Regions from separate parts of the Homo sapiens genome. Here all the other regions are linked to region 7. The links are contacts of gene promoters, found by promoter capture Hi-C in blood cells and fetal thymus (Javierre and others, 2016). All regions are on one chromosome and are shown on one strand. The core of a region is centred on a gene start or on the middle of the fragment in contact, and the rest is flanking DNA. Distances in the headings are between cores, read along the strand shown. Region 1 overlaps LPCAT3 (lysophosphatidylcholine acyltransferase 3). Region 2 holds the start of LRRC23 (leucine rich repeat containing 23). Region 3 has its middle 16 kb from the start of VWF. Region 4 holds the start of ATN1 (atrophin 1). Region 5 overlaps EMG1 (EMG1 N1-specific pseudouridine methyltransferase). Region 6 holds the start of C12orf57 (chromosome 12 open reading frame 57). Region 7 holds the start of GAPDH (glyceraldehyde-3-phosphate dehydrogenase).

Evidence for each region. Contacts are between HindIII fragments. The CHiCAGO score rates a contact against its expected background, and 5 or more counts as called.
Region 1: a contact is called between a fragment that was not itself captured here and the fragment with the promoter of GAPDH in region 7, in 3 of 17 cell types (activated CD4 T cells, naive CD8 T cells and naive CD4 T cells). The highest score is 6.7, in activated CD4 T cells.
Region 2: the fragment with the promoter of LRRC23 here is called in contact with the fragment with the promoter of GAPDH in region 7 in 9 of 17 cell types (non-activated CD4 T cells, total B cells, activated CD4 T cells and 6 more); the score reaches 10.0 in non-activated CD4 T cells.
Region 3: a contact is called between a fragment that was not itself captured here and the fragment with the promoter of GAPDH in region 7, in 3 of 17 cell types (non-activated CD4 T cells, naive CD4 T cells and naive CD8 T cells). The highest score is 10.1, in non-activated CD4 T cells.
Region 4: a contact is called between a fragment that was not itself captured here and the fragment with the promoter of GAPDH in region 7, in 7 of 17 cell types (activated CD4 T cells, non-activated CD4 T cells, naive CD8 T cells and 4 more). The highest score is 12.1, in activated CD4 T cells.
Region 5: a contact is called between a fragment that was not itself captured here and the fragment with the promoter of GAPDH in region 7, in 5 of 17 cell types (non-activated CD4 T cells, activated CD4 T cells, naive CD8 T cells and 2 more). The highest score is 10.4, in non-activated CD4 T cells.
Region 6: a contact is called between the fragment with the promoter of C12orf57 here and the fragment with the promoter of GAPDH in region 7, in 2 of 17 cell types (activated CD4 T cells and non-activated CD4 T cells). The highest score is 8.2, in activated CD4 T cells.

What each region holds. Positions count from the first base shown.
Region 1 is chr12:7,013,787-7,017,311 of GRCh38, reverse strand. The region is part of intron 1 of LPCAT3 (lysophosphatidylcholine acyltransferase 3); the gene reads left to right. Among named protein-coding and RNA genes, the nearest start is that of LPCAT3, 2.9 kb to the left of the region's middle. The HindIII fragment of the contact is 980 bases long and covers 1,778-2,757 here.
Region 2 is chr12:6,902,552-6,906,071 of GRCh38, reverse strand. LRRC23 (leucine rich repeat containing 23) reads right to left here and starts at 1,250. Exons shown (of 8, transcript NM_001135217.2): 1 at 997-1,250; 2 at 313-487; 3 at 118-227. The coding sequence starts at 438. The HindIII fragment of the contact is 20,869 bases long and covers 1-3,520 here.
Region 3 is chr12:6,138,868-6,142,516 of GRCh38, reverse strand. No RefSeq gene overlaps it. Among named protein-coding and RNA genes, the nearest start is that of VWF, 16 kb to the right of the region's middle. RefSeq lists an enhancer at 1-170. The HindIII fragment of the contact is 753 bases long and covers 1,905-2,657 here.
Region 4 is chr12:6,924,591-6,928,653 of GRCh38, reverse strand. ATN1 (atrophin 1) reads right to left here and starts at 695. Exons shown (of 10, transcript NM_001940.4): 1 at 270-695. It overlaps LOC124902868 (a long non-coding RNA gene), which reads left to right and starts at 958. Exons shown (of 2, transcript XR_007063194.1): 1 at 958-1,127; 2 at 2,529-4,063. RefSeq lists silencers at 697-856, 1,037-1,086 and enhancers at 2,111-2,810, 3,511-4,063. The HindIII fragment of the contact is 151 bases long and covers 1,318-1,468 here.
Region 5 is chr12:6,972,333-6,975,968 of GRCh38, reverse strand. EMG1 (EMG1 N1-specific pseudouridine methyltransferase) reads right to left here. Exons shown (of 6, transcript NM_006331.8): 2 at 1,529-1,630; 3 at 1,276-1,417; 4 at 821-879; 5 at 591-740; 6 at 1-273. The coding sequence ends at 160. Among named protein-coding and RNA genes, the nearest start is that of EMG1, 3.2 kb to the right of the region's middle. The HindIII fragment of the contact is 838 bases long and covers 832-1,669 here.
Region 6 is chr12:6,942,606-6,946,174 of GRCh38, reverse strand. It overlaps C12orf57 (chromosome 12 open reading frame 57), which reads right to left and starts at 2,153. Exons shown (of 3, transcript NM_138425.4): 1 at 2,002-2,153; 2 at 1,523-1,699; 3 at 173-404. The coding sequence starts at 2,053. The coding sequence ends at 253. It overlaps RNU7-1 (RNA, U7 small nuclear 1), which reads right to left and starts at 2,359; the gene lies at 2,297-2,359. RefSeq lists enhancers at 326-936, 1,497-1,646, 1,186-1,765, 1,657-1,776, 2,077-2,266 and 3 more and a silencer at 1,604-1,863. The HindIII fragment of the contact is 10,579 bases long and covers 1-2,214 here.
Region 7 is chr12:6,532,744-6,536,555 of GRCh38, reverse strand. GAPDH (glyceraldehyde-3-phosphate dehydrogenase) reads right to left here and starts at 2,039. Exons shown (of 9, transcript NM_002046.7): 1 at 1,987-2,039; 2 at 1,695-1,746; 3 at 1-62. The coding sequence starts at 1,723. GAPDH-DT (GAPDH divergent transcript) reads left to right here and starts at 2,149. Exons shown (of 2, transcript XR_002957397.2): 1 at 2,149-3,092; 2 at 3,413-3,812. RefSeq lists silencers at 1,748-1,887, 2,608-2,857 and enhancers at 1,486-2,259, 2,260-3,033, 3,034-3,807, 3,768-3,812. The HindIII fragment of the contact is 4,237 bases long and covers 350-3,812 here.

The DNA of each region.
Region 1 (3,525 bases), core at 1,018-3,517, 480 kb before region 7:
GGGCCAAGATTGGGAAGTACCTGTACATATATATACATAAAATTTAAGCAGTTGGAACGTTTTATGAAGGTTATAGAACTTTAGGAGCGGGTGAGTGGGAAGGATTAAGCAAAAGCTGTAAGTGGTGATAAGGAAACAGGACTGGGGCTAGAGCAGAGGGTTAGAGGTCTGAACCATGAGAAGTTTGAGATAAAGTTGGGCAGGTGTGGAAAGCCTTAAATGCCAGAGAGAAGTTTGGCGTTTATCCAGTATTCAGTAGAAACACTGATATATAATATCACCAGAGGGTGTTAACCCAATCTAGATAATGGGATAGGCATTAATTCATATTTAAACAACCTTGCCTAATAGCATTGTTACTTTCCTATTACATATCAAACCAAGATCTTCCTTTCTTCCAAATAAAGATCACCTTTTTCTTCCTCTGTGGAATCGTAAGATTTTAAAGATGGAATGGAACTGGGGTTGTGCAGTTTGCTCAGTGTCACCCAGACATCATCCAAATTTATCAGCACCCTAGTCTAGGCTTATTTGCACTACACCAGCTTTGAACTTCCTACTCTTTCATCCTTGTTTCTGACCCAGTTATTTTTGACATTGTAATTAGCAATTAGTGTTTACATTTGACAGGACGCAGCGGCTTATGCTTATAATCGTAACACTTTGGGAGGCCAAGGTGGGAGGAACGCTTGAGGCCAGCCTGGGCAACATTTTATTTGTCTCTACAAAAAATTAGGCCAGGCGCAGGGGCACATGCCTGTAATCCTGGCATTTTGGGAGGCCAAGGTGGGCAGATCGCTTGAGGTCAGGAGTTTGAGACCAGCCTGGCCAACATGGTGAAACCCCATCTCTCCTAAAAGTATAAAAATTAGCTGGGCATGGTGGTGGGCACCTGTAATCCCAGCTACTTGGGAGGCTGAGGCAGGAGAATCACTTGAACCCTGGAGGTGAAGGTTGTAGTGAGCCAAGTTAGCTCTACTGCACTCCAGCCTGGGTGACAGAGCAAGACTCTGTCTCCAAAAAAAAAAAAAAAATTAATAAAAAAATGAGCTGGGCGTGGTGGCTCATGCCATGCCTGTGGTCCCAGCTACTCCCGAGATTGAGGTGGGAGGATCACTTGGGCCTGGAAGTTTGAGGCTACAGTGAGCCGTGGCACCACTGCACTCCAGCCTGAAGGATAGAGCAAGACCCTGTCTCAAAAAAAAAAAAAAATTGTATTACATTCATTAGTTAGGAAACTGTTGGTTTCTCAACAATAAATTCAGAATGTAACACAAGTAGCAACCAGTTATAAGGGGCAATCTGTTAAATGGAGTTAGGGCTGGAATTAGGACTTGGAATTCAACTTTTGTTTGTTGACATAAAGAATTCAACTTTTGTTTGTTGACATAATCACATATTGCCTGTGCACTCCTGCTGGGCTATTGCTGTGTACTGTCACGGGGCATACAGATGACTAGGAAATTGTTTTCTCCATATCCCACTCCTCTTCTCTCATCTTCTCTCATTACCACCAATCATCAAAGTAATAAACACTTGGTGTAATGCATCTACCACACTCCCGAGCCCCCTTGCTCATTCTACCATTTCCCACACCCTGCCTTCCTATCTCACATACCCTGTTGCCTTCAGTAATTCATAGTATTTCTCATTTTTAGATCAACTTGGGGCTTCAACTTGCCTCCTATCAGGTATAGCTCATCATGTGGACGGGTAGGATTGTATTCCTAGTAGGCACAGTTTAAATACATACATATAAATATAAATTGATTAAGCTTGATGTGTGCGTGGTAGGAGTGCATTTTGGTTGTAAATATGTTTCCCTTACAAAGGTTATTACCATTTCTGTGTATTGTAACCTAGAAACCAGTAGCCTTTCAGCAGTGGAGTTCCTGGTTCTTGAACCCAGCTCTCTCAGGGAACTGGGATACTGGAGGAAATCCTTGCTGGAGGTACCAAGAAAGCCTGTAGTCCAAAATGATTTCTGGTTCACTTTCCACTGATTAGATTAATTCAGGTTAAAAACACCTCCCTAAATGCAAATACCCCAAGGGAAGAGTTAGGTATATCATTCACATTTTCAAGTGTACGTTTTAATCAGATAGTCTAATTACTATTTTCTTAACATCTTACTTTTTTTACTTCAGTTCTGTGTGCTGATCTTGGGGTGGAATGCAGAGCATTAAAGCACTGGCTTTTAAACCTTTTTGACTAAGATCCATCGTAAGAAATATGTTTTACATTGTGACCCAGAACACACAGACTTGTATGTGTATACACGTATTTGAAACAAGTTTCAGGAAAGAATACTTGCCCTTAATAATAACTCACTAAGTTGATTTCATGACTTGTTAATGAGTTACAACAGTTTGAAAAATCTTGAGTTAGAGGCTGCAATTTTTTTTTTTTTTTTTTTTTTGAGACGGAGTCTCGCTCTGTCACCCACACTGGAGTGCAGTGGCTCGATGTCGGCTCATTGCAACCTCCGCCTCCCAGGTTCAAGCAGTTCTCCTCCTCAGCCTCCTGAGTAGCTAGGACTATGGTGCACGCCATCATACCCGGCTAATTTTTGTGTTTTTAGTAGAGACGGGGTTTCACCATGTTGGCTAGGATGGTCTCAATCTACTGACGTCGTGATCCACCTGCCTCGGCCTCCCAAAGTGCTGGAATTACAGGCGTGAAATTACAGGCATGAGCCACCGCGCCCAGCCGAGGCTGCAATTTTTAATATTCAATACTTCAAAGAAAAAGTAAGCTTATGTGGACTGCTGCACTGGAGTATTTTGAGCAGTCAGAAGACTGTAAAAGGAGTGTGTTTATGTTTGTGTGGTGTATGCTTGCAAGGAGTTTGATGGAAGGATGCTGAAGAGGAATTTTGCCATGAGCCCTGGTGCTGGCAAATACTACCAGAAAACATCTCCCCTTCAACAGCTTGGATCTCATCACTCCTTAATGTAACTAATACCATGAATTGCTCATATAAATTCAGTAACATGCACCTACTACAGGTAAAGCAGTATTCTTAACCCTGCAAGGGCAGGAGCAGTGGGTGTAGTATGAGTCAGGAGCCCTGCACTCAAAGGTATTATGGTCTGTTAGGGTATAGGAAATGGGCCTGAGATAAGTATACTAATAACCCCAATAAATTTTAAGCACCATAAGAGAGGTACAGAGCTTTGTGAGATTTAAAGATGGGACATTTCATTTAAAGATGAGTAAGGTTTCAGCATGCTGAGATGGTAAGACTTAAGGAATAGCATGAGCAGAGGCACTGAGGTGTGAATGTGGCAACACAGCCAAGGAACAGTCAGTAGTCTAGTGTGACTAAAACAGGACTTTAAAGAAGTGATGGAAAATCAGGCTGGAACTGTAGGTTAAAGAGCCTTTAAAGCCAAGGTAAAGAGTTAGTACTCACGTAGGTGATAGGGAACATTGGAGATTTTTGAGTGGGGAATAATATGGCTGGAGCTGTATTTAAAAAGATAATACAGCCTGGGGTGATTTGAAGTCAGCATAGACAAGTAG
Region 2 (3,520 bases), core at 1-2,500, 370 kb before region 7:
TTTCCACTAGGCATGAGAAGAGTCAAACTCTCAACCAGAACACCCAGGAATGACAGTGGGAAAGGAGATAGGGGCCCTACAGTCTCACAGTCCTCATCTGGTCCCCCCAAAACGCACCTCTCTTTAACCTCCAGCTTGACATAAGCATGAGCCAGCCCATTGCCTGTCTTACAGAGCAGAGAAAGCCCTTCCTTCATCATGTCCTCCGTGAGGGGGGTGGGCAGCCACTGCAGGTAGAAGTGGAGTAAGGTGTCTCTCCCCTGCCCAACCCCCTCCTTCAGCCCTAGGACCCCTCCTTGTCCAGGCTCTCACTTCCTCAGGGAACTCTTCCCCCTCTTTTCTGTAGTCCTCCCCCTCCTCTGTCTCCTTCTCGTCCTCTTCTTTCTCAGAATCATCCTGGTCTGGCTCAGAGTCTTCTAGATCATCTTCATCTGACATCTTTCTTCCCTCCTGAAAGCTCTGGAGTCAGATAAGCTCAGTCCTCCTCCTGAAAAAGAAGGTCTCATCAGCTTCTGCCAGCCTTCAGCTCCTTCATCGTCATTGACACGTGCCACTCCCATCACCCCCATGACTTCTGACCCACCAACTCTAGGCTTCTTTCCTTATCCCTGTGAACATCTCATTTTGATTCTCAACTCCCACTTCACACTTTCCACTGAGGACCCCCTCCCTTCAGGATGTCACCCACACCCCCAGGCCTTTCCTGTCCTTCACAGTGACTCCAGCTCTCCTCCAGCAGCCGGGTGTCCCTATTTCCTGGGCTTCCCTCTCCCCCATTCTTCCCACCTCCCCCTTAAGCCATGCTCTCCAATCTTCCCTACCAATTCCTCCTCCTCTCCTCTCAGCTCCCATTGCGCCATCCGTAATCCCTGCTCCATTCATTTCTTCTACTTTTCCCTCCCCACTGGGCCAATTTCCTTGGGCCCTCTGGTACACCAGCCTAAAGCGCAGTCTCCAACCCTCCCACTCAATTCGCCTTAGCAAAGGGGCTCAGACCCTGTTTCTGCTCAATCAGAAGCAGTTCTGGAGAGGCCCTTGGTCCCGAGAGGGAAGGACTGTTTAGCAAGCGGGCGAGGGGAAGGAGGGGTTGTGTACTGCTGTTATGGCAACGGGGACGGGGCACTTGGCAACTGCAGCTCGCCACCGTTGAGAGTAGAGCGGCGACTACCTGATGCGCAAATCAGCCGGGGAGGGGATTGATCAGTAGTTGCCTGGTTACCACGCCACTTTCCCGTCCCGGGAACCCGGATGAGGCGCGGAAGGGGCGTTGGGCCGCTAATTGGCTGAGGACAAAAAGAAGTGGGCAGGGCTGAGAAGCGAGAAGAGAGGGGGCGGGGCTAGTCATTACGTCACCCAAGACCTTAAAGGGACCGGACATCTTCAATGCAAAAGTATTGTGAATTCAGGAAAAACTCGTCCTTCGAAGCAAAAAGGGCGGGGCTGCGAGGAAAAGCAAGAAACACCAAGATAAGGGGTCTTTTCCCCTTCCCCCTATAGTTTCTGCTCATTAGTTATTTTCAGGTAGACCTTTGGAAGGTGGCTTGGTGGAGCGGAAGGAGTCCAGACCCAGATACCTTAAGAACTGGGTTGGAGTCTTGGCAGATCTGCATTTGCTAGCTAAACGTACCCAAGACTCTTTGTTATCTGTAGAATTAGCTTAACTATATCAACTGACAGGGATCCAGTATGAGTTATCCTGGACTGGTTTGATGCAAACCTTTTAGTGGGTGGAAGGCAGAAAATTCAACATCTGCCCACTAAAATACTCCTGATCCAACGTTGTTATATCAGTAATCAACAGGAACTGGCATAGCCAAACCCAGGCACTCAGGCCTGTCTGACATGTTGAAGGAGATGAAAAAGATGTTGAGATGCAATAAATATTTCTGGAGAGTTTGTGCGAGACATTATGTCAAACATCTTTACAACTGATATTTAATCTCTGCAACAGTCCTGTAAGATAGACATTTGAAAGAAGAGGATACTGAGGCTCAGGGAGGTTAAGATGACACAATTCCTGCCTGGGGAAAGGGGGATGTTACCAATCTTGTTGTGGAATCTAATGTAAATGAAACAATGAGGTAACCAGGTAAGATGGCATGTGATTCATTGTTAAATTGTGCCCACAGACTTTATATAACGGCAAAGTGGTCTGGTGGAAGATGTGGTGGGCAAGAAATCAGGAAGTATTATATTACCTCCTGCCCAGGGCAGCTTGGAGGAATGTGGTTAATAGGCAAATCTGTTTACTTGGTGTCATGGAACCAGTAGGGACTTTAAAGTCAGAGACACCAGCTTCAAAACCCATCTCTACTACTTAATACCTGTGTGTCCTTCAGCAGGTTATGAAATCTTACTGAGGTCTAATTTCCACAGTCGTGAAATGGGGATTATTAAAACGTCCACCTGTAAGGATTGTTAAGGGATTAAAAGAGATAATGTGGGTAAATCGCCTTGCACTTAGTTGACCCTTAGTAAACATTTTCCTGCTCCTCCCCACCCCTGGCCTGTGTCCTTGGTACTGGGGTTGCTGTGAGGAAAAAGAAATAATAAATATGAACACTCTGAAGAGTGAGATGTGCTATACAAATGAAAGTTATTGTATTGTTGGAGTGTGGAGAAGGGAAAAATCCATGTGGTTTGATGTAGTCAAAAGAAATGGATATGAGTTTCCTTGGCCAAGAAGAAAGAGGAAGACACATTAGATGGGAAGAAAAGTTGTGATGTAAGGGTTAGGAAGGTGTCCTTGAACATACACTTTTGTTATTTTGTTTTTATTTTTGTTTTGAAATAGAGTTTCCCTCTGTCGCCCAGGATGGAGTGCGGTGGAGCAATCATAGCTCACTGCAACGTCCACCTCCTGGGCTCAAGCAGTCCTTCCGTCTCAGCCTCCTGGGTACCTGGGACTACAGGTGTGCGCCACCATGCCAAGTTAATTTTTTTGTATTTTTTGTAGAGACAAGGTTTTGCTATGTTGCCCAGGCTAGTCTCAAACTCCTGGGCTCAAGCAATCCGCCCGCCTCGGCCTTCCAAAGTGCTGGGATTATAGGCATGAGCCACTGCGCCCTGCCATGCTTTTGTTAAGCACTTAATCTGTCCCTGTGCTCCGGGACAGTAAAGCACAGAAGTCCTTATCTTTTATCTTCAAGAGGTGTACAGTTCAGTGACAAGATTAAGTACACAAGTAATTCAATATAATGAGACATGTTATAATAATCATACCCAACATTTATAGAGCTTTTACTAAGTGCTAGGGATCATTGTATAGTATATGCATATACATGATATCATATATTCGGGGCAGAGATTTCAGAGGCAGGAATCACCTGTGGTAATGCTTGGAGAAGAAAGAGCTCAATGCCTGTGCAAAGAAAGCAGGTGGTTCTGCTGGCTGGAACAGTAGGTGCAGTCGGGGGTTGGAATATGGTAGAAGCAGTAAACAGACTTGGATCACACTGAAGGATCTGGACTTTATCCTGAAAGCTGTGGGGAGCTATTGAAGGTTTTATTTCGTGTTTAG
Region 3 (3,649 bases), core at 1,032-3,531, 390 kb after region 7:
CGGGGAGGCTTGGGCCACACGGGAGCCCATGGAGTGGGTGGGAGGCTCAGGCATGGCAGGCTGCAGGTCCCGAGCCCTGCCCCGCGGGAAGGCAGCTAAGGCCCGGCGAGAAATCGAGCGCAGCGCCGGTGGGCCAGCACTGCTGGGGGACCCAGTACACCCTCCACAGCTGCTGGCCCGGGTGCTAAGTCCCTCATTGCCCGGGGCCAGCAGGGCTGGCCGGCTGCTCTGAGTGTGGGGCCCGCCAAGCCCACGCCCACCCGGAACTCCAGCTGACTCGCAAGCGCGGCACGCAGCCCTGCTTCCTGCTCGCGCCTCTCCCTCCACACCTCCCTGCAAGCTGAGGGAGCGGGCTCCAGCCTTGGCCAGCCCAGAAAGTGGCTCCCACAGTGCAGTGGGGGGCTGAAGGGCTCCTCAAATGCCGCCAAAGTGGGAGCCCAGGCAGGGGAGGTGCTGAGAGCAAGCAAGGGCTCTGAGGACTGCCAGCACGCTGTCACCTCTCAATACCTTAACTTGCAAGTAATTGAAAGTGGGTATATGTATGACTGTTGACCTGCCCCTGAGCTGGTGCTCTCAACACATTGCCTAGGGGTTAGCCCTGCTCTGCAGGAGTAGTCATAAAGTTGTCACACTGCTGCCTCCATAAAGCTGTTTTCTTCTACCACCAGCTGGCTCTTGAATTCTTTCCTGAGCAAAGCCAAGAATCTTCCAGGGCTAAGTCCCAATTTGGGAGCTTACTTGCCCTGCATCAGTGCAATCATAGCTCACTGCAGCCTGGAACTTCGGGGCTCAAGCAATCCTCCTGCCTGAGCCTCCTGAATAGCTAAGATGACAGATGTGTGCCACTACACCTGGCTAATTTTTTCTTTTTTTTGTAGACATGAGGTCTCACTTTGTTGCCTAGGCTGATCATTGTTTTTAAAATTTCTATCTTTACTGATTTTTATCTGCCTGACCTATGGATAATTGAGAAAGCCTTTTTGAAGTCAATTGTCAATTTATGTATTTTGAAGCTATTTTGTAAGATGCATATAAATTTGAGTTGCTGTAACTTTCTGCCTCTCAAATTAGAACCCCAGGTCTTGAGATAGTGATTCTGGGGTCAGGAATCCTGCTGTGCTACTACTGGGGCCAGGAATGCCACCAGATGTAATGGTCTGAGTTCTCTGTAGCTCGATAGCAGCAATAATGTGGTGTCATTGTTCCTGAGAACCAGGGAAGATGAGTCTGAAGCTGCACCATTCTTCTGACATTGTAGCGTGGGTGGGTCCTCTCTATTTTGATGATTGTGAAGGAAGTGAGCATGTTATTCTTGCACAAGATGTTTGTCTTTAGAAGAGAGGAAGTAGAGGAGGACAGCTTCCTCTCCGCTGGGGGCTACAGCTTTATGCTGGGAGCTGGTCGTCTGGCCTAAGAAATACTGCTGTGTTTATTTATTTGGCGCATACTGCCAAGAAAATTCTCTTTCCTGCAGAATTTACGTAAGAGAGATGCTACAAATATACAAAGAAAAGACAAAGATGGGTCCTCCTAGAAAACCTTTCCTCCCCTGAGGTTCTTTTGCTTTTGTACTAGTTACCTGGAGAACTTACTCCTCAGACAGGCAGAGGTCAATTTACCCATCCCCCTGCCTCTGAGCAGCCCTGCCCCATGCGCCCCCAGAGGTCACGCACCCTTCCCATTTGTACTTAATGCTGTTTACATCAGCCCAAGTTCTAATGGCTCTCATACTGTGGTCCTCAGGGATCCTTCTTCCTTGAGCCTCACAGCACTAATTGTCCTCTAACTTATTTGGCAAAGCTGCCTTGGGACACCCTCCATGAGGGCAAGGGAGCAGGTTGTGTGGCATGATATCTTGGCCTATATTAGTTTTCTATTGCTGCAGTGACAAATGACCACAAGCTTAGTGGCCTGAAACAACACAAATTTATCTTACAATTCGTAATTGTAAGAAGCTCGAATTGGATCAAAATCAAGGTGTGTTGGAAGAGCTGGATTCCTTCTGTAGGTTCTATGGGAGAACCTGTTCTTCGCCTCTATCCACTTCCAGGGGCACACATTCCTTGCCTCGTGGCCCCGCGTTGCATGACCTCTGCTCGCATCATCACATCTCCTTCCCTGATGCTGACCCTCCTGCTCCTCTTATAAAAACTCTTGTGATTATATCGGCCCAGCAGGATACTCTGGGGTAAGCCAGGATCATCTCCCCATCTCAAGACCCTTAACTTGCTCACATCTGCAAAATCCCTTTTGCCATGTAAGGTAGCATTCAGAGGTTTGAGATGGGATGTAGACATCTTTGGCTGTTCTTCTGCTACCGTAATGTGTTACGTGGTTGGCTGTATCTGCTCTTCTCTTGTCAAACCCATGGTCTCCTCCAGGCCCTCGTCTTCCCTGTCCGGGAAGGTTCCACCAACCACTAATGGATCTCCCTTTCTCCATCTGACCTCTCACAATACATGCCACTGCTGCCAGAGGGCCTCATCTGGTGTCACAGGATGAACATAAACCCCTACACTGGTTGAAGGTCCCTGAGGACTTGCCTCTTATTCCTCTCTTTGGTCTCTTTTCCTGTGAGTCTCCTTTATAGGCTGTAACAACTGGCTTATTCACCTACTTACTGATTTAGCATCTCAGAGCTTGCCTGCTTCTAAGCTTTTACTTCCTTCCTTGCAGCTGATGTGCCTTTGCCCTCATTTTCACCTGGCAAAATCCTACTCAGCAAATGGGTAATTAAACCATTGCAACCATTATAAACCATTGCAATTTTTCAGGGGGGCCATTTGGCCTTATTGTCAAAGGCCTCACTGAAAATGTGGACGGTGGCTGACCCAGTGCTCCACATGTAGGATTTCATCCTGTGGGAGTAATCCTGAGGGTTGTGCATGGATATAGCTTCAAAGATGTTCACTGCAGCATTGTTAATTAAAAAAAAAAAAAAGTAGGCCGGGAGTGGTGGCTCACGCCTGTAATCCCAGCACTTTGGGAGGCAGAGGCGGGCGGATCACGAGGTCAGGAGATTGAGGCCATCCTGGTTAACGCGGTGAAACCCTGTCTCTACTAAAAATACAAAAAATTAGCCGGGTGTAGTGGCGGGTGCCTGTAGTCCCAGCTACTCGGGAGGCTGAGGCAGGAGAATGGCATGAACCCAGGAGGTGGAGCTTGCAGTGAGCCGAGATTGCGCCACTGCACTCCAGCCTGGGTGACAGAGCGAGACTGCATCTCAAAAAAAAAAAAAAAAAAAAAAAAGTAGCACTAACCTAAATAAATATCCCATAATATGGAACTGGTTACATAAATTGTGGAATATCAGTAAGTGAACTATTCCAGCCAAGTGTGTTATACTCTGATAAAACAGACACTTGAGTGTTATTTAGAAATAGTGCCAGAGTGTCATATGAGTTACAGGCGCAGAATACCACATGGGAACGTGACCCCAGTCTGATGTCCCTGCCCCCTTGCAGAGCCATCCTGTGACTTTCACCGTGCAATTTCCCCAACCACAGTGACGAGTGCTATCTTCTGTGCTGATGATTTGGAGAGCAGGCAACAACTTCCTTGGGTATTAAGCAATTTTTTTTATCTGCAGTTTCAGTTCTGTAGCTACATTTTAATATTATATGCTAATTAACCCACATCATTGTTCTAC
Region 4 (4,063 bases), core at 144-2,643, 390 kb before region 7:
CCTCCTCCGGAGACCCTCCCTCCTTCCCCACCTTCCCGATCCTCCCGAAACCCTGGCCCCCGACTCTCCTCGGCGGGCCCCACCCCCTGAGCCCCCGGCCCTCAGGCCAGGCAGAGCCCGCAGTGGGGGGACGGGATTGGGAAAATAACAAATGGAGGCGGCGGCGGCAGGAGGGGGAACTGGGAGGGGTGGGGGTGGGGAGCCGCAGGCCGGAGCCCGGGCGGGACAGAACCCCGCGGGCCCGGGGCCCAGGCGGCCGCAGACCTTACCTGCTGGTAGCTCGGGACGGCTGGCTGGCTCCGAGCGGGATTCCGGGCTCCGGCGCCTCTGGGGGGCGGCGGCGGCAGCTCCCCCGCCCCCCTCTCCTCTTCTCGGCCTCAGTCGCCGCCGCGACGACGGCGGCGGCGGCCCCGACCCCCCCGGAGGGCGGCCCCCATCCCCCCTTTTCCCCGCCTGGCCCCAATCGCCCGCCGGCCCCCGGAGCAAACCCCGATCCCCGCTCTGCTCCCCACCTCCCCGGGCTCGCCGCCTCCCCCTGGCCGCCCGGAATGCCCCGGGCCGCGCCGCCCGCCCCCGCCGCGCCGCCCGGCCCCGCGGCCCGCCCGGCCCTCGGCGCGGTTCCGACCCGCCGCCGCCCGCGCCCGCCTAGCGCAGCCCGCACCCGCGCGATCCCGGGCCCCTCGGCCGCCTCGCCCGCGGCCCCCGCCCCTTCCCCGGCAGTCGGCTCCCTCTCCCCCCTCCTAGCCCCTCCCCGAAGCCGCGGTCCCTCCGAAATGGCCCGGCCCGAGGCCCCGACCCGGCGCGGGGCTGCGGACGGGCTGGGCGGTGCGTCCGGCGACTCGCACAGGAAAGCGGACGGCGAAGGGAGGGAGCCTGGGAGAGGGGGATGGGAGAAGGGAGGAAGAGGGAGAAGGAGGGAGCGCGGAGGAACGGAGGAGAGAGGGGCCAGGAGGGAGACGCGAGGGAGGGAGCGCGAGGCAAGCCGCGAGGGGGGAGAGAGGGGGAGCCGGAGAGGGGGAGGCGCAGCGCGAGTTGGCCGAGGCCGAGGCCGAGGGGGCCGGGGCGCGGGGAGGGCTAGCCGTGGCGGAATGTGGGGAGCCCGCGGGCCCGGCGCGGGAGAGGGCTAGGTAGGAGGGGCTGTGGGTGGTGAGGGCAGATGAGGGGAGGCTGAAGTTTGGGGGCGAGCGGGTCTGTGGCAGAGGTGAAGTGGGAGGAGTTTGGGGGATCCTGGGGTAGAGATTGGGATAATGGGATTGGATTGGAAAGATGGAGCTGCCTGGGGGCTTTGTGGGTGCCTGGTGAGAAGTGAGAGAAGCTTGGGGTGAGGGATCTGTGGCAGAGATGGAGCCAGACGGGTTTGGGGGCTATTATCAGAGAGAATGGGATGGAAGTTTGGGGTCATAAGGAGAGAGAAAAATTGAAAAGATGACATATATAGAAAGATGGGGCTTCTGGAAAAAGTAAAGCTTTTGGGGGTGATTAGTGTTGACAAAAGAGTCATAAATATAAGAATTGGGGGTGGGGGGATGAAGGAATGCTGGAGAGAGAGAAGTCCAGAGGAAACGTCAGTGAGGAGAGAGAGGAGGGAACGCGTGAGGAACCTTAAGAAGGGATGAACGAGGTGGGCCCAGGTGCCAATTCTAGGGAAAATAGGTTCTGGGTGAGAAAGGAGGGCTCTGGATGGGAAAGAAGGGTGGGAGACACCGGGCTGGCTGGATCCTGGGGGTGGGGGCTCCCAGTAGAGCCGAGGAGGGTTTACTTGGGCGGGCAGAATGGGGAAGAGGGGGATAAGAAGATTGGAAGGAAATGTAAGCTGAACAAGGCCTATGGCTGGCGGCAGTATGGAAGAGGAAAGATCATGGATGGGAAAAGAAAATGGAGATGGGGCCGGTGCGGGGGCTCACGCCTGTAATCTCAGCACTTTCGGAGGCTGAGTCGGGTGGGTCACTTGTCAGGAGTTCAAGACCAGCCTGGCCAACATGGCGAAACCCCGTCTCTACTAAAAATACAAAAATTAGCCGGGTGTGGTGGCGCATGCCTGTAATCCCAGCTACTCAGAGGCTGAGGCAGGAGAATCCTTGAACCTGGGAGGCAAAGGTTTCAGCAAGCAGAGATCGCGCCACTGCACTCCAGCCTGGGAGACAGAGCGAGACGCCGTCTCAAAAAAAAAAAGAAAAAATGGAGATGGGAAACGAGGGCAGTTAAAGGAAATGACAGATGTGGGAGCGGGGGGAGGTTGCTGGCAAGCTCATGGGTAGATAGGTAAGGGATACAGCTTGGAGGAGTGAGACACCATCCTCAGGCCTTCCATCTAGTGGCATCTCCATTTTCCTTCTCAAATCTGTTGAAAGTCATCACTAAAGATCCCCTGGGTCACAGGGAAGCAGTCGGGTGAAGACTGGGCTTAATGTGGACCCAAATCCCTGGGTATCCTTGTTGCTCAATCCCACTTGTTCTAAGGTGGAGACAGTCCCCACCACAGACTGCAGGCTCCTCCCAACCCTTCCTCTCCCTCCCCTGCTCTCCAGGTAGCCTCTGGCAGTCAGTCTGCTCCCGGCCGTGAAGCCAGCACCTCCGCCAGCCCACCACCAGTTCCTTCTCCTGGGCTCCCTCCTGGCCCTCCACCAAGCGGCAACATCTCCCAGGACAAAGGACACAGGGTGATTTTTGGCAGCAGAAATTGGGAAGGCCAGAGAATGGGAGGGAGGCAGGCTGGCAAGCCGGAAGAGCTGGAGCTGGAGTGTGGATTAGGAGCCCTCAGTAGAGCTCCAGATTTGGGGTGGGGGTCGGGTACTTGTGGGGCCAGTCTTGCTGGAGGCTAAGGGTGGGCCCTGAATTGGCAAGATCCCACCTGCCTTCAGGGAAGGAAGGAGGTTAGCTCTGGAGCAGCTCAGTAGATTTTTGTCTCACAATTCCTTGGGCCAGATTCAACAAAGTTCTGGGAATACTCAAAAGCTCTAAACAAGATTCCAGAGCACTGGGGAACTGGGCGCAGGAACAGGAACACTTCCTTGGCCTGGGAATGAGTCATCACTCTGAAGTCCCTTGAATTGGTTGGCACTCACTTTACCACTCCAAGCACACCTTCCTCCCAGGGCCTCCCTGAGACCAGGCCAGCTCCCTGTCTCCCTGTGCACCCCGACTCCCTTCCTCTTGCTCTAGGGTAGCTGCTGCTCCTCCCCACCCCTGACTTTGTTCCAGGGCTCCCCCTTTCCCTCTCACCCTCTCTCCCCATGGCATTTCCTCTCTTTCTGTACCACTCAGTTCAGTCTCCCACTGGGCCTTGGCTCAAGCCCTTTCCAAATCCCTTCCAGGCTGAGCTCTTCTCCCTTGTTTTTTAATCACTAAGGAATGGGCTACAATGGATACTAAAAGAAAAATTTAGGCATATGTGGGGATAGGGGATGGTGAGAGTCACAAAAGAAACCATTGTCTACCCTCTCCCATTCCTCCCCTACCTGAGGGCCAGGCTTATAGTCCAGCTGCAGGGGACATCTCTCTCTCTCTCTCTCACACACACACACACACACACACACGCACACGCACACACACAGCCCCAGCCATCCCTCACCCCAGCTCCCTCTCTGGCTCAGCCCCCCACAACCCATTGGTCTCCAGGCAACGGCACAAAGGGAAAGTGGAGAGAAGGGCCTGGGAGGCCCAGGCAGAGCTAGCTGTAACCCAATCCAACCCCGATACTTTGGGGGTTGGGGGGCCAGACTGTCAGAGAAGGCGACCTGGTGAGGAGGGATGAAAGAAAGGACAGAGGCTAGGAACTAGGCTCAAACTAGGATAGTCCTGGTCAGTCTGGGAGTTACTAAGGTAAGATGGGTATCAGGGACCCCAGAGAAAACTGAGAGGCACAGAGGAAAGTACAGGAAACCCCAAGGGAGGCATAAAGGGTCGCCAGGAGAAAAGGGAAAGATGAGATGCCCACACTGAAACTAAAAGGCACAGAAATGGAAAGGGGGCATGAGGCTCTTTGAACTGAAAATGGCTGAGGTGTCAGGGACCCGGGAAGGAGGGCAAGAAAAGAAATGGGCCCTACCCATACAGAACTAGA
Region 5 (3,636 bases), core at 1-2,500, 440 kb before region 7:
ACAGTATTCATAGGATAAACAAATAGCAAATGTACAGCCTTGGCTTCCCCAAACTCCACAGTCTCAGTGCAGAAAGATCATCTTCCAGCAGTCAGCTCAGACCAGGGTCAAAGGATGTGACATCAACAGTTTCTGGTTTCAGAACAGGTTCTACTACTGTCAAATGACCCCCCATACTTCCTCAAAGGCTGTGGTAAGTTTTGCACAGGTGAGGGCAGCAGAAAGGGGGTAGTTACTGATGGACACCATCTTCTCTGTATACTCCACACTGACCTAAGAAAAGAACAGTTTTGTCAGCCAACTCTGTCACTCAGTAGCTGTTTCAGCCCTTCTTTAGGGCAGGAAAACTATGGCTGAGCTAGTATTTCAGCTGTGCTGTTGAATATCAAATCCCTACAAAGGATGAAGAAGGTCCTAACTGTGACTTCCAATTATGGCAGCAGCCCTCAAAGGATGTGCCCTGGGGCAGGGTGTGGAACTGTCATGTGTCTTCTAGCTCATTGTAAGCATTGTTAAAATGCCTACTGCTCTGGGAATTCTATACTAAGTTCAGCTCTACCAAGAATTTCAGGGTTGAGCCCAGACCTTACCTTGCCATGGGCAAAGGCCCCTACCACAAAAACAATAGGATCACTGCTGGGCACCAGCTCACGCACATCACTGACAACCGGGATGGAAAAAGAAGTGCCAACTTTCATACATCCAACTGGAAAGTGATCTGATACTGGATTCTTAATTACCTAAAGTAAAAAAGAGAGAAAAGTCAGCCCCAGAAACATTCCCAGAACCAGCCTTCAACTAACAGGTTTCAATACCTCACCTTCAAAAGCTTCTGGGGGCCATCAGCTGCTCGAACACTGAGCTTGTGTAAAAGTTGAACTAGAAGGGGGAAAAAAGAGTTCAGAGCTAGATGGAGACCACAGTCCTTCTGTCCAGTCATCGAACAAGGAAAACCCCATGGATAAGATGAGTTCCCTGTGTGCTTTATATCTAGACTGGACTCCTGAAATGTTAGGAACAAACAGTTGCCAAGCATATGGCTAGCTGTACAGTGATGGGTTCAGACTCCCTCTTTCACTCAGCCAGGAAGCTACTGCAAGAACAGGAGTGGAGTTTCCACAAACATAGAAAAATAATAACAGTCCTTGTCCTGGTATTAATCATGTTGTTCTCCCATTTTCTCGCTTAAAAATCCACATTTAGTTCTCCCTTTTCCTCTTCCTCCCTTCTTCCCTACTGACAAGTTCATTCTAACTTTGTTCTAAGGCTTCTTACCCATGAGGCCACAAAAGCGGTCAAAGGTTCTGGGAATTCGGGTCTGGGGATTCACTTCAATCAGAACATTCTTCTGTGTATGGATATAAACCTGTAGCAAGCCAGCTCGGTTCAGGGGACTATCCATCAGCATCAGCAAACTCTGAGCAAAGCAGAAACCGAGACATGGTTAAGGCTGAAGAGAGGCAGCACTCAGCTGCCAACCCTTCCATACAGAGGCTCAAAGGGTTGTGAGCACTGTCCCTGGAGTTACCTGGTGGGTGATATCTGGCCGCGCTTCCCCAGGGTCCCGTCCATTCTTCAACAATATAGACTTGTGCTTGTCACAGTTGAGTAGCTCATATGTCTTCCCTACCTGAAGAACAGGGAACATGACGAGAGAACAGCATAAGCTTCTGTTACCTAGCCCCGTGGTTCTTCAAGTGTGGTCCCCAAACTACCAGCAGCAGCTGCACCTGGAAACTTGTTAGGCAAATTCTCAGGCCCACCCTAGACCTACTAAACCAGGAACACTGGGGGTGGAGCCCAGCAAGCCCTTCGGGGGATTACTGTGCAGCCTTATTTGCACTCCCCAGTGAATGGTCTGAGAGGGAAACAGGAGGAAGGGCACAACCTGTGACTTCACATTATCTACTAATACACTGGATTTAATTAAAAAACCTGTGGCTGTTAGGCAAGGCCAATGAGACATCCTGGAACTAGGCAGGAGTTAGTAGTTAGCAAGGCTGAATGCTGTGTTTATTACAGGAGCAGTAAGTAGGTACTGTGCAAAATATCGAGTCACCACCCTCAGTTTGCGTACACCAAACATGCACTAAGTGAAGAGCTGCAAATCTGAACAAGAAATGTGAAGGCCGGGCGTGGTGGCTCACGCCTGTAATCCCAGCACTTTGGGAGGCCGAGGCGGGCAGATCACAAGGTCAGGAGATTGAGACCATCGTGGCTAACACGGTGAAACCCCATCTCTACTAAAAATATAAAAAATTAGCCGGGCATGGTGGCAGGCGCCTGTAGTCCCAGCTACTTGGGAGGCAGAGGCAGGAGAATGGCATGAACCCAGGAGGCGGAGCTTGCAGCGCCACTGCACTCCAGCCCGGGCAACAGAGCGAGACTCCATCTCAAAAAAAAGAAATGTGAAAACTAATGATGCAGGAGGCAGTTTAATCAAAGAAAACTCTCAGAAGTAAAAGGAAGAGGGGTTATTCCCAGTTTTAAGACGGGCATGGGGGCAGATGCAGTGGCTCACGGCTGTAATCCCAGCACTCTGGGAGGCCAAGGCAGGCAAATCACTTAAGGTCAGGAGTTCAAGACCAGCCTGGGCAACATGGCGAAACCCCATCTCTACTAAAAATACAAAAATTAGCTGGGCATGGTGGCACATGCCTGTAGTCCTAGCTACTTGGGAGGCTAAGGTGGGAGGATGGCTTGAGCCCAGGAGACAGAGATTGCAGTGAGCCAAGACTGTACCACTGCACTCCAGCAAGACCCTGTCTCAAAAAAAAGAAAAAAGAAAGACTGGCATGAGCAAAGGTACAGATGGAATCAAGACAAAGTAGCCAGGTGTGGTGGCTTATGCCTGTGATCCCAACACTTTAGGAGGCCGAGGTGGAAGGATCACTTGAGCCCAGGAATTTGAGACCGGCCTGGGCAACACGGTGGGACCCTGTCTCACAAAAAAAAAAAAAAAAATTAGCCAGGCGCAGTGCCATTTGCTGGCAGTCCCAGTTACTCAGGAGGATGAGGTGGGAGGACTGCTTGAGCCAGGGAAGTAGAGGCTGCAGTGAACCATCACACCACTGCACTCTGTTGCCCAGGCAACAGAGCAAGACCCTATCTCAAAAAAGAAACAAAAAAGAAAAAGTGGAAACGAAGAAAGGAAATTTTGAGGAAAATTGGGAGCTGAGACACTAAAGGGCAGTGATTATATATGAAGCTGCTTTGTAAACCACAGAATCCTAATGTATCAAGCACAAAGCCAAAAATAATTCTGGAGTAAGCAGGGCAGGATGGGAATGACTGACAGACACTATCCTAACAACTCTCTGTACACTGGAAAAGACATCAGAAGTTTGATGTTAAAGAAGTGGACTACATCTGTAGCAGCTAAAAGAAATAATTCCAAGTTGCAATTTGGAGTCCCAAGGAGCATTAGGGTGGTCAGTAAAAAGTCTAAAAACAAACTGTTATATACAAATACAAGTTTTGGAAGGTTAAGTTTTTATGTATCACTGGAATGTATATGTCTAGCAACATTCTTGAGATATATGGCTCCAAAAAGTCTGCGAAAAAAGGGATGTAGATTTTGAAATTGAATAGTTGAAGTAATGTCACAGAGAGCACAAAGAACAAATGACCAAGAAC
Region 6 (3,569 bases), core at 904-3,403, 410 kb before region 7:
CTGCCCCGGGGGAAGGGGAGGAGCCTCAGGTAGGGTTAGGCCCTGGGGCAGGGTTAGGCCCAGCCAGGACCATAGGGAGGAGCTGTTCAGGGGGATGGGGCCTGGAAAGGCAGAGGGAATCAGGGAAGGAGAGATGGGGGTTGTCAGGTCCGCAAGAGACTGACACCAAGGCTAAGTCACAGGCGCATTTATTATTGTCTGGAACATCAAGGCCTTTCCTCCCCTGGCAGTGGCACAAGGGAGGGCCAACTCTCAGGAGGCGGCCACGCTGCCACCAGCAGCAGGCCCATGGGGTGGCAGGGTCATGGGCGGCAGAAACAGCGCCTTCAGCTTGCCTGACAGGCTGGCGATCTCAGGATCCTGGGCTTCGTAGGACTTGACCAAGCGAGCAAACTTAAGGACACCTGCAAGAGGGAGTGGAAGGTCAACCCTTCTCCTAAGGACCAGCGTGCCTAAGACACCTGGAGGGGGTGGTAGTCTAAGCATGAACTGCTCCCCCACTGGCTGGGCAGCTGTTTGCCAAACAGGACGCATGCAGGCCTCTGTCCCGTGTGGTTTGGATGATGACATTTGGTCTACACTGGGCACAACTAGATGGGATGCAGTGAATGAAAATGTCCCAAGGCAGTGTGCTTCTTGCTCTCAGGTGAACCATTTTAGCAGTTTAGTCACTGGAACCCCAAGAATGAACACGAGACCCCAGGTCTGTAGCTGGAACTCAGGAAGGCTATGAGGCAGCAGAGCTGAATCAGTCAACACCTTTGGGGAACACCAGGATCTCACCAAAAATTTAACCACCAACCCCCCCCAAACAAAAATTAGCTGAAACACCCTGGAGAGACTGCAGCCACTGCTGTCATGCAGACATGTCACTAAAAGGTGGCACAACAGCATTTAAGTCCAGCTCTGCTACTCGAGAGTCTGCACCATTAGAGTTTGCTTCCTCATCACAAAATGGAATAATAATGTGATTAACAGTACAGGTTGACCATCCTTAATTAGAAAATCCAAAATCTGAAATTATGAGTGCCAGTGTGAGGCCGAAAATGGAAAATTCCACACCTGACTTCATAGTGGGGGGTGGGGGAGACTGTAGTCAAAACGCAGTCAAAACTTTGTCTCATGCACAAAATTATTCAGACTATTATATAAAATTACCCTCAGGCTATGTGCATAAGGTGCGTGTATATGAAACAAAACAATTTCGTGTTCAGATTTAGGTCCCATCCCCCAAGATATCCATGTATATGTAAATATTCCGAAATCTGAAAAAACCCGAAACACTTCCGGTCCCAACCATTTCGGGTAAGGGATACAGAACCTCTACTGTACAAAACGCAACTCGGACGCACAAGCTCAGGGTAGACCCTGGGCTCTGAGTGCCAAGAATGTTAGTCAGATTGTGGCTGCCGCCGTGTGGCGAGAAAGGGGACAACCGCTCATGGGCCCACAGATCCGGCGCCCTCTCCCGACCCAACTCCCGCCTTCCCGCGTCTGACCCGCCTTCCCGCGTCTGACCCACCTTCCCCGTCGCAGCTGAAGCCATAGGCTTTGATAACCTCCTGCTGGATCTGCGTGGCCACGGGCAGCACGAATTGCAGCATCTTACCCATGTCGTTGCAGGCGTTATCCCGAGCCTCGTCCATGCGCACTGCATTCTCCGGGGCGGAGAACGCCTGGATCACCTCCGCGAGGACCACTGCGCGCCAGAAGCATCCCAGGGAGGCGTCCCGGGTAGGCGTCGGAGAACAGACAGCGGGCCCAGCGGAGAGCGCAAGGAATTAGTGGATTGAGGCTGTAGGTAACCCAATAAGATCCCAAGTCTTGGGGGCAAGCGCCCCACTTAGAAGGACGGTACCCGGCGTCCCCTACCCCATTTTCCCGGCGGACGTAGCCAGGTTTGTCGCCCCACATCCTCCGCCCGCATCCTCCCCAGACCAGCAGCCCATGCCTTGACTACCCCAGGCCAGCAGCCTATGCCTTGACTAGGACGATTCTCACCCTTTGCTTGCTCAGCGCTCAAGGCCGCCGGTTGGGTCGAGGCGGACGCCATAGGGCGTCTGAAGCTCTAGGTTCAGCGGAGGTAAATGGAAAACTCACGAATAAAGAGCCACGTCCTACAACCGTTCCCAACGCCCCTGGGAGCGGAAAGGAAACAGCATCCGGCGCAGCCGGAAGCGCCCAGGCGTGGCCCAAACCTTCATACCCCAAGCTTACAACTGCATCAAGACCACCAAAACTACCCATAATTTTTGCACAGTGAAAACAATCTATCATTGGCAACAAACATCATAAGAGGGGCTTTCCGGTAAAAAGCCAGAAAGCCTACTAGACAAATTCTAAAAGAGCTGTAACACTGCTGCGTATGTGTTTGGAGAGAAGATGGGATATAAAGGAACTCCACAATTGATGAGGGTGAGCTTAGGTGACTTTTTTCTTGTTCCTATTACTGTATAAACAACGACGCATGTGGTAACTTTCAGTAGGAAAAATAATATTCTAAGGAACTTACTTAAGTCATTCATTTCTAGAGTTCGCGAACATTTGTTCTCAGCCCATGCAAATGAGTTCGGTGCTGATTGGTTGAGAAAGCAGCCAGTCACAGCCCCTTCGTTGTTGTTAAGCCCGGAGACCTGGATTCGGCAGTAAAGGCCCAGAGCAAAAGCCGTTGTCGCAGTTTCCTAAAGGCCTTGTCTATTGATGAGCGATGGAGCCTAATGCCCGGCCCGATTTCCCTTCCCTTCCAGGCTTTTATCACCCACTCCCTTCTCAAACTGTAGGTGGTTAAGGATGCCAGGTACTAATCGCCTGGACCTATTAAAACTAGCCCACCCCACCCCCGCTTCATAACCGGCTTTGTTTTTTGTTTTTGAGACGGAGTCTTGCTCTGTCGCCAAGCTGGAGTGCAGCTGGGGGGGATCTTGGCTCACCATAACCTCCACCTCCCGGGTTCAAGCGATTCTCCTGCCTCAACCTCCCAAGTCGCTGGGACGACAGGCGCGCGCCACCATGCCCAGCTAATGTTTTGTTTTTAGTAGAGACAGGGTTTTGCCATGTTGGCCAAGCTGGTCTGGAACTCCTGACCTCGTGATCCGCCCGCCTCGGCCTCCCAAAGTCCTGGGATTACCAGCGTGAGCCGTCGCGCCTGGCCTCATAACCGTTTCTTAAAGTATTCCACGGAAAGGTTTCAGGACTCTGAAGCCCTTGTTCCGGAGGACTCTGGTGGCTCCTAGCAGTGAGACCCGTCTGAATAGATTCCTAGAACTGACCACGTCAGAGGTGGGCCTGTCCCAGGCCTCTAGTGTTTGGTTGGTTGGGGTGTCTTTTGTTTGTTTGTTTTGAGATAGGGCCTTGCTCTGTCACCCAGGCTAGAGTGCAGTGGTGCGATCATGACTCACTGTAGCCTCGACCCCCAAGTGATCCTCCCACCTCAGCCTCCTGAGTAGCTGGGACCACAAGTGCACCACAACCCCCAGCTGATTTTGTCTTAAGATGGGGTTTCTCTATGTTGCCCAAGCTGGTTTCCAACTCCTGGGCTCAAGCAATCCACCCGCGTCTCACAGGCATAA
Region 7 (3,812 bases), core at 790-3,289:
CAATATCCACTTTACCAGAGTTAAAAGCAGCCCTGGTGACCAGGCGCCCAATACGACCAAATCTAAGAGACAAGAGGCAAGAAGGCATGAGGAGGGGAGGCTCCTCCAGAATATGTGAGCAGCCCTAGGCCACCTCCCCATTAAGAGGGCGAATGCAGCATCTCCTTACCCCCAGGAGGGCCCAAGAGGTTGAATTTTATCTCCCTTGAGCTTCCCTGCCAGGCTGGCCTGGCTTAAGGCATGGCTGCAACTGAAGGCTCCAGGGCTGCCCAACACCCCCAGTCATACGAAGCCCTTCCAGGAGAAGCGGCCATGTGGGGCACTGCCACCCACAGTCTGGGCACAAGCTTTGTACATGGTATTCACCACCCCACTATGCCACCCCAGGAATGCTTGCTGCTGCCTAGCTCAGCTGCACCCTTTAGGGAGAAAACGCTTGTACACTCAGCATCATCAAACTCAAAGGGCAGGAGTAAAGGTCAGAAATTAACTGGACAGGGCAAGCCCACCCCTTCTCTAAGTCCCTCCTACAAAAGGGACAGAGACTGGGGCGGGTGGGAAGAGGGGAAGCTGTATTTTAACCCCCTAGTCCCAGGGCTTTGATTTGCCAAGTTGCCTGTCCTTCCTAGCTCTTTTCCAGAAATCAGGAGTGGGAGCACAGGTAAGTGCATGTGTGTGGGGAGAAGGGATGGGAGAGAGCCCCAGCCCAGGCCCCCAGCTACAGAAAGGTCAGCAGCTATATTTAACCTCAGACCAGGGTGCGGTGGGAGATCTGGTTTCCGGAAGACGGAATGGGGAGAAGGGCAGGTTCCCCGAGGCGCCCAGACACCCAATCCTCCCGGTGACATTTACAGCCTGGCCTTTGGGGTCGGGTCAACGCTAGGCTGGCAGGGGAAGGGCGGGGCCGTGAGGTGAGCCGGCGCTGCAGGAAGGGGCCACCACCAGAGGGGCCATTTTGCGGTGGAAATGTCCTTTTCCAACTACCCATGACTCAGCTTCTCCCGGCTTGGCACCATGCCACAGCCACCACACCTCTGCGGGGAGGGGACACAAGAGGACCTCCATAAACCCACTTCTTTGATTTACCAGAGAATAATCTAGGAAAAGCATCACCCGGAGGAGAAATCGGGCCAGCTAGCCTCGCTCCACCTGACTTCCCCGCCACACGCGACTCCACCCATCGAGGCAGGAGCGCAGGGTTAGTCACCGGCAGGCTTTCCTAACGGCTGCCCATTCATTTCCTTCCCGGTTGCAACATGGCGGCCGCTCTACCGCAGGCGCAGCATCCGGACAGGGATGCACCCGCTGCGCACTAGCATCCCGGGGCCTGCGGTGCCGGAGGCCGTGGGGGAGGGGCTCCTCTGCGACACGTGACCCCGCAGAGCGCGAAAGGAAAGAAAGCGTCCCCCACCTAGGGGTCCGGGTCGGGATCTCGGGCGGGAGTAGGGACCTCCTGTTTCTGGGGACTAGGGGAAGGAGGCTCCGGGCAGATGGCGCCGCAAGGGCGGAGCTGCACAGGGCGCCACAGCCTGGGTGCGGGGCTCCGCCAGGTCCGAGCGCTGACCTTGAGCTCTCCTTGCGGGGAACAGCTACCCTGCCCCCATACGACTGCAAAGACCCGGAGCCCGCAAGGCTCGTAGACGCGGTTCGGGGGCGGTCGCAGCCCAGGGCCCCCCAGCCACCCGCGAACTCACCCGTTGACTCCGACCTTCACCTTCCCCATGGTGTCTGAGCGATGTGGCTCGGCTGCGCGGAGGGAGAGAACAGTGAGCGCCTAGTGGCCCCGGCCGACACACACGCCTCCCCTCCCCTCCCCCACCAGGCCTCCATGCCCAGCCCGCGCCGCATCACGTCCTCCGCCCGCCCCTGCAATGCGGAGGCCGCCCGGGCCCACCCCGCAGCGGCGCGAACACATCCGGCCTGCGCCCGCCCCTGCCGCCTTCAGGCCGTCCCTAGCCTCCCGGGTTTCTCTCCGCCCGTCTTCACCTGGCGACGCAAAAGAAGATGCGGCTGACTGTCGAACAGGAGGAGCAGAGAGCGAAGCGGGAGGCTGCGGGCTCAATTTATAGAAACCGGGGGCGCGGCGGCAGGCGGTGACTCGGACCCCGCCTCCCGCCAGGCTCAGCCAGTCCCAGCCCAAGGTCTTGAGGCCTGAGCTACGTGCGCCCGTAAAACCGCTAGTAGCCGGGCCCTACTTTCTCCCCGCTTTTTTTTTTCCGCAGCCGCCTGGTTCAACTGGGCACGCACCGAGCGTGTGGGCCCCGACGTAGGGGGGAAGGGACTGAGATTGGCCCGATGGGAGGTGATCGGTGCTGGTTCCCAGGACTGGACTGTGGGCAGCAGGACACTAGGGAGTCAAGGACGGGGACCCTTACACGCTTGGATGAAACAGGAGGACTTTGGGAACGACTGAGATGGGGAATTGGAGCCGGAGCCCAGCACCGCTCGCGGCTGCACGCGGCCTGCCCCCTCCCCTTTCTTTCTTTCAAAGGCTGAGAGGCGGGAAAGTTGGGGAACTTCTCCTCGAGGCTCTGCGGTAGTGACACCGGACTGCTCAGGCAAAGGCCTAGGAGGGGCCCATGGGCCTCGGGCGGGGGCCCGTGGTTCCTTCCCAGCCCCCACTTCCCCCTCCCCATCTCCTGGCTCCTGGCATCTCTGGGACCGAGGCCTGGGCTGGGCACTGGGCACTGGGCACTGGGGGCCTGGAGAGGAAGGAGGCTCGGGAGGCGGCTTGAGGGGGAGGGGGAGGTTTCTGCACGGAAGGTCACGATGTCCTGCAGCCCTGTAGCCTGGACCTGATAATTAGGGCAGACAATCCCGGCCCTGTGTGCACCAGCGGCTCTCTCCGGGCTGGGGCCCCAGGCGGAGGACAGGATGGCTGGTGGGGGCCCAGAGGCCTCCCACAAAGGCACTCCTGGAAACCTGTGGGCTGTGCTGCCTAGGGAGAGAGACAGTGTGCCTTTCATTCCATCCAGCCTGGGGCGAAGAGCGGGACGTGAGGGCGGAAGTCCCTCCCCGCCCTGGGACGTGCAGGCGAGCCAGGAGCCAGGGACTCCCTTTCACTGGCTGCGCCGGGGGATATTGAGGGCAGGGTGAGTCAAGAAGAGGGAAAAAGTGGGAAAAGAGGTCTTGGGCACACGGTGGGAACAGGTCCCCTGCCCCCTCCCACAGGGGATCCATTCTTCTGGTAGGAGGGCAGAGGGCCAGGTTTGTGAGTGTGGGATGGGAGGGTGCTGAACACTTGTAAGGAAGGGGGTGGGGTGGGGTGGCCTTGGCCCATCAGCAGGTGCATGGGAGGGGGATCCCGGGCCTCTTTGCTGGCCCAGCATAACCTGACACCAGCCCCCTGCCCTTCTAGCTAAAAGCCGGTTGCTAAGTTTAGCCTGCCTGGTGATAATCTTTGCTTAAAAAGCACCCACAGGACTCCAGTCCCTGACCCTGCCTTTCTGGGATTGCCTTTCCTGCTGGGACCCAGAGCCAGGCTGTGTCCTCGTCTGGCTGCCACTGGCATGGTTGGTGCGGGCTTTTCACAATGACCACCCAGAGCAGAGTAGCAAGAGCAAGGCAAGAAGGTCCCTAATGGTGAAAGGGGTGGGGTGGGGGAGTGGAGGAAGCCCCACCTCTGACTCAGCTATTCCTGCAACCAGGACCGTTAACCCTTTCTCATTGAGAGCATTAAGAGCACCTCCATGCTCCTGCACCACCCAAGCGTGATCTTCCCCTCTGCCTCATGCTTGTCATTTTTCATTACTGTCTTCTCCCCGCAAAGAGGGAGCTCAGTGCCCAGGGAGCACTACTGACGTAGTGTGCTG